Regions from separate parts of the Homo sapiens genome. Here region 1 is linked to region 2. Evidence: promoter capture Hi-C in 16 types of primary human blood cells and fetal thymus (Javierre and others, 2016). All regions are on one chromosome and are shown on one strand. The core of a region is centred on a gene start or on the middle of the fragment in contact, and the rest is flanking DNA. Distances in the headings are between cores, read along the strand shown. Region 1 has its middle 14 kb from the start of LANCL1. Region 2 holds the start of KANSL1L-AS1 (KANSL1L antisense RNA 1).

The links. Contacts are between HindIII fragments. The CHiCAGO score rates a contact against its expected background, and 5 or more counts as called.
Region 1: a fragment that was not itself captured here is called in contact with the fragment with the promoter of KANSL1L-AS1 in region 2 in 1 of 17 cell types (non-activated CD4 T cells); the score reaches 5.6 in non-activated CD4 T cells.

What each region holds. Positions count from the first base shown.
Region 1 is chr2:210,488,913-210,492,005 of GRCh38, reverse strand. It overlaps a transcript of CPS1 not described here. Among named protein-coding and RNA genes, the nearest start is that of LANCL1, 14 kb to the right of the region's middle. The HindIII fragment of the contact is 2,816 bases long and covers 63-2,878 here.
Region 2 is chr2:210,028,672-210,032,042 of GRCh38, reverse strand. It overlaps KANSL1L-AS1 (KANSL1L antisense RNA 1), which reads right to left and starts at 2,121. Exons shown (of 5, transcript NR_110291.1): 1 at 2,045-2,121; 2 at 536-576. It overlaps KANSL1L (KAT8 regulatory NSL complex subunit 1 like), which reads left to right. Exons shown (of 15, transcript NM_152519.4): 9 at 497-622; 10 at 2,125-2,240; 11 at 3,074-3,198. The HindIII fragment of the contact is 1,781 bases long and covers 1,055-2,835 here.

The DNA.
Region 1 (3,093 bases), core at 221-2,720, 460 kb before region 2:
CTAGCAACTCCCTTACAATAGTGTTGGTTGCTGTCAGTGGCTCATAAGCACTCTCACAAGCTTTATTGCTACCACCCTTAAATCTCCACTGAATTCCCTGCTAAGTTAAGAAACAAGAACTGAGAGAGCAGAATGATATGACTATTCCTCAGGTTAACAGAATGAAGGGAAGGCCTATGTTCCAGCTGTTATAGGACCCCCTCCCCTAACCTAGCAGAAGATTCCTCTTAGGAGACAGGTATCTGAAACTCACCAGGGCTGACAGATCTGTTCAAGGTGATCCCACATTTCTTAGGGGCCAAGAGGTAGAAACTTGGTGCCTTAACAGTGGAGGTGAGATGGTAACTTCCCATTGCCACAGGACACTCAGAACACCAGGAAAAAAACAAACATGTCCAGGTGCGGTGGCTCATGCCTCTAATCCCAGCACTTTGGGAGTCCAAGGCAGGCGGATCGCGAGGTCAGGAGATAGAGACCATCCTGGCTAACATAGTGAAACCCCATCTCTACTAAAAATACAAAAAATTAGCTGGGCATGGTGGCACGTGCCTGTAGTCCCAGCTACTTGGGAGGCTGAGACAGGAGAATCACTTGAACCGGGAGGTGGAGGTTGCAGTGAGCCAAGATCGCACCATTCCAGCCTGGCAACAGAACAAGACTCCGTCTCAAAAAAAAAAAAAAAAAAAAAAAAAAAAAAACACAGATACCAAATACATGCTTTTACAACCAGAACATTTCAAAATATCCAACAGTTAAATCATTCCTGCAGGAACTCAACACAGGCAGTAATTACATCATCCTAAGAAACAAAACAAAAATGAAACTCTTATAGCCAATTAAACTCATTCAAGTCAATTATCCAAATAATTCCTGCCAATACACAATTCAAACCTTCACTTCAAAAGAATTTGTTTACAAACCTACTAATTGCCTCCAGAAATTAGCATCCTGGAAGCATTATAAAGTGTCCTAGTCTGGAACATCATAGTCCTCAAGGGGATTTTCCAACTTTGCCCCTAGAACATTCTATATCTTACAGATGAGGGATCCTAGGGACCACAGAGTTTCAAGGGTCTTCTCTGAGACAAGAGTCTTCTGAAGCAGAAACAGAACTAGACTCCCAACCTAGGATTCTGTGGATAATATTATCTTACACACAAAAACTATAAACTGAGATTTTCAAGAATTACAATAACAGACCAACAGTTTCATTGTGTACATGTGTATCATGGGGTTCATATTTTAGATCCCAGTTTGATGGTACAAAAAATGAATTGATTCATTTCCCAAGAAATCCACCTTTTGTTACTTATAGCCCTGGCTCACCATTGAATTAAGACAGCCTCTCTTTTATTTCCACTTTGGATATATCCTATTACCATTAACTAGACCAATAAATGTCCTTCACTGTCCCCCCACAAACTTCTACAAGTATTCTGCACTCCTCTCTTTATAGGTGCAATGCACTTTACAACGAGAAGAGGAGCTCAAGGATAAATTCAGATGTAGTTAATATGGATCATTTTAAAAATTTTGATTCTGCAGCCAAATCACTTGGTACATACTTATGGATTTATTAAGTAATATTCATGTACTAGATGCAAGATTATTTCAGACAACCTAGGAAGGTCACATAAGCCTACATAGAAAATCTTCCCATGGCTATGCAGAAGAGGAAAAAAGGGATTGTGCACAATTACAGTCTCTATTAGAGACAATTTGTAGGTCAGAGGTAAGCCTATAAGCATATATATCTCCCCATAATTTTCCAGAATATTACTATTAGCAATAGGCTCTAGCTCTACAAGAACGTTTTTCTAAATGGTATTCCTGAGTGGTTACAGAGAAAGCTGAGAGTAGTTGAATCACTCTCCAACTGAAGCAAGGCTGTGTATAAAGTGAAATATGTTTATTTCTTTCTTCATCCTTCCTTCCTTCTTCCTTCCATCCTTTCTTCCTTTCTTCCTGCCTGCCTGCTTTCCTTCCTTCCTTTTTTTTTTTTTTTTTTGAGACAGAGTCTCGCTCTGTCACCCAGGCTGGAGTGCAGTGGCAGGATCTCGGCTCACTGCAAGCTCCGCCTCCCGGGTTCACGCCATTCTCCTGCCTCAGCCTCCCAAGTAGCTGGGACTACAGGCGTCCGCCACCACGCCCGGCTAATTTTTTGTATTTTCAGTAGAGACGGGGTTTCACCATGTTAGCCAGGATGGTCTCGATCTCCTGACCTCGTGATCTGCCTGCCTCGGCCTCTCCCTTCCTTCCTTTTTTATTTTATTCTTATAATAGTATGGAAGAAAGCAAGTATGATTGAAGTCCCACAGCTTGTTTGTAGCTCTGCCTCCCCACTTTATGATTTTTTTGGTTTAAACCAAATTTTCTTCTTTTAATGCTCCTTAAATAGTATTTATTTACTTGCTCCTGTGACCTCCAAATTAGAAGTGTCAGAGTGCTAGCAGGTGTATGTGCCAGGGAAGAAAACTTTCCTTCCTACTTACATATAAAACTAGACCAGCTCTGTTTCTGGGTCAGTCTATCAGAGTAAGGTCAATGTGCAAGGAAGAAAATATTCATTCCTGGGATGTGCCAGTGAATGAACCAGCACCAGCATGCATCTACCTATGTGACACCCAACAGAAGATTTGCTCTGTCCTCTGAAATGCTCTGTAGCCAGAAATTCAAAGCAAGGTCAGCAGCAGTTAAATACCGCACCCACCAAGTCAGACTGACCCTAGGTACAAAGAGTATCCATTAGGAGATAGGAGAGAAGATCCTTTTCTCTTTAAATTCTGCAATATATATTCTTTAGTTCTGAAAGGTAAATTAAACTCGAGATTTCCTTTTTCAGGGCTGTTTGCACTGATCCAGGCCTTAAAGATAAGCTTTCCCATCATCTATAAGTTTGCAGTGCAGGTAGACCAAATAGTTTTTCAAATGTTAACATAAGCAATTTTCTTGCTAAGCTCTCCAATGAATAAATTTTCATAATTCTTAATAATCTATTGTACCTCTAATTTCCAAGATTTGTATAAAAGTAAGAATTAAAAGAATATTCATGAGTATGAATCTGAAGCCCACTAAGACTTCTAGTTTTGCTAG
Region 2 (3,371 bases), core at 872-3,371:
ACTACTACAGGAATAAACTCATGTAATCATTATCCAAGGTCGCTGCTATTATCCCTATTTTACAGATGATGCAACTAAGGCATCAGAGATATTAAATGATTCTGGTTCTTGCTCGCACAGTCTAGTCTGACCATGTTGAATCTTACTTGGTCCCAACTTATTTCCAGATTTAAAGGTAAGCAAGAACTTAAAGATTCTGATCGCCAAGATTTATATATCTGAGCCAATCCTCACTCTATCAAGTTTCTGTAATTTGGAAGACTTTGAGAACAGATCATCTTCCCTTTTCATCCCCCTCAAAAAAATGGAGAAAATATAAGAAACTGGAAATTCCTGGGGATGTTTTTAGTTGGAGTTGTGTGTCTTGGTATTTATGTTTATCTGTAATTTTGAACTGGTATCTTAAAATTCTGCAGTTACAAATAAAAACAGATTGACATGTTCACTGTCTGTGTTAAGGAACTAAAACTTAATATTTCCTTTTCATTTGTTTTAGTACATAGTACTCTGAATCAATGGAGAAATGGATATTCACCTATATGTAAGCCTCAAATAAGGTCAGAATCTTCTGCACAACTGTTACAGGGAAGAAAGAAAAGACATTTGAGTGAAACAGCATTAGGTAGGTTAAAGTGAGGATATAAGCAGTAGTGATAAATATTAAAAATTAAAAATTCTGATTTTAAAATAACCTCTCATGGGAGTTTATAATCCAGAACAGCCACTAATAACACAAAACATCTATGAGTCTACAAACATGAAACAGCATATTCGTAGTTAATTTAGAATTATTTGTGGACTGGTATCTACCCACTTTATGGCAATTAAGTATTTCCCTCCTATGTTCCCTGACTAGTTGTCTTCTACCAATCAGTCCCTGGATGGGATTTAATCTTCAAAGTTGTGTTCTATGCTCAAAATAGGCTAGTGCAAAGTTGCCTTACAGAAACTGTTAACCATTTATGGTACCTACTGTGGAGATGTTGATGCACTGCAGATTCCTCAGGATTTTGAGAAAGTCAACAAGATTCAACTTATATATATATATAAAGCTTTAAAAACATCTAATAAGATGCAACATGAAGTATACATTACCTAAGATATAAAATGTTTCACTTAAATTGACTGACACTTTAGATCTAACTTCAAGTTTGATGTACATACAGGAATAAAATAAAGAAATGTCATACTACAAATAAATAACTAGACAATTCCAAAAGGGTAGGACATCTGGTCCAGCCTGTCAAAAGTCAATGTAATGAAAAATGATTTATTCTAGACTATAAGAAACCTAGGAGACAATGGCCAATTTTTATATATAGATCCTTATCTGAAGAAACTAGCTATAAAGGACTTTTTTTTAACAAATGGAGATATTTAAATATGGACTGGGTATTAGATTTTATATTATGCAGGAAATATTCTCATTTTAAAACACTTGTACTAAAATAAGGGCAGTAAGTAAACGCATACATATATATATTTACTACACACACACACACACACAGTAACTGGGAACCAAAACAGGAAAAAAAAAAAAAAAGAACTTGGAAGATATACAGAAAATACTAACAGAAGTAAACTTCTAATCAATATCCTGAGAGATATGAGAAATTTCATCTATGAAACAAGAACAGGATGCTGTTTTAAAAAAAGAGTACCAGAGAACAAGTACTTTCGGAAACATGTACTTATAATAGCAGAATTTTTTCAAAAAATTAAGAGTGTTCAGAAGACCAAGGACAGATACCTCACATAAATTAGGATAAAAAGTCAGATATGAAAAATGAGATTAGATAAGAAAATTAAGATAGTTCTGGTGGTTCAACTATGAATAGGAGTCACAGGAAACAAGAATAAAGGGATGAGATGAGGGATTATTCAGGGAACAATAAGAAATATATTCGATAAAAACTGCCAAAGCCCCAGAAAATGGAAATAACTTGTGGCATGACTGCAAGTAAGGCTCCTCTTTTTTCATTTCCTTTTTTGTTTTCTAATACACGAATTTAAACACACACACACAAAACAAGGAATCAATCACCTGTCATCTAATTAGGAAAGTAATTCTAATGATATTAGACTTGTTTAATGTGTAACATTCAATGGTTCTTTCCATGGCAGGAGAAAGAACTAAACTTGAAGAATCTGATTTTCAACACACAGAATCAGGATCCCATAGCAATTTTACTGCTGTTTCCAATGTCAACGTTTTATCAAGAATCCAGAATTCATCACGAGTAGGTTTTTCCATATGTTGAACTCTAAAATAGCTTTAAAAATAAAAACACCTGATTTTGAAAATAATTTATATTTTGCTAATCTATAACAGCCTTACTAGCACATATTAACAGACATTTATAACTATCTTGTTAGAAAACAATATATTTGATTCATACAACTTATTTTTAACTATGAAGCTAAAAGTTCATTAATATTTGGTTATAGCTTCTTTTTATGTGTTAAAAATTTAAACATTATCATGATCATCTCTATTCCTTAACATATTAAGCTAAATAAAGTCTTACTAATGAGAATTCAGGACTTTCTTGTTCTTGTCCTGTTTTTTGTTTGTTTGTTTGTTTTTTTGTTATCTGGCCAGGGAATAGAGAGGTCAAAAGGTGGGAGGGTTTAGAAATGAATTCCGAAACTCAGGAACCAGGAATGCATAAATGAAGAGTATACTGAAGGGCTGACCAAAAATGTTTCACTGCCTTTCCTAATAAAAAGTGGTTACTGATCATTTTCATTGACATTTAGGGTGATGTATGTTGGTCTTTTCTGATAAAGAGTTTTGCATTTAAGACCTATTTTTTGTGGTCTTAAAAATAAGCTTGTATGCTTGCACACATAAATACACATTACACATCTACCAAGAGATTGTTCTGATTTACAAAAGATAGAAAAATGTTTTATTTTTTGGTTTTCTTAACATTTTTTAGTCAGACTTTATAACAATGTATTTACAAAAATTATGTAACGTGTACTGCCATATTTACATAACTGATGAAAGGAGGGTATCATTACAAGTAACTAGACAGTACTGTAAATCTACTGTAATCCTGTTTTGCAGAATACTGCACGACGGAGATTGAGAAGTGAGAGCTCTTATGACATAGATAACATTGTGATTCCCATGTCATTAGTAGCCCCAGCTAAATTAGAGAAACTCCAATATAAGGAAATACTTACTCCAAGGTATGTATACTTACATCTTCATATTTTTCTTCCTTCCTTCCCTAATAAACTTAAATTTTCAAAGTGAAGAATTTTAATTAATGAAAGGAGCATCCTTCTCCCAGTTCCTTCATAGCCATGGAGGGGAAACGGTGAAAAAAAAATTACTCGTGCCTTAAGTGTTATATAGTATC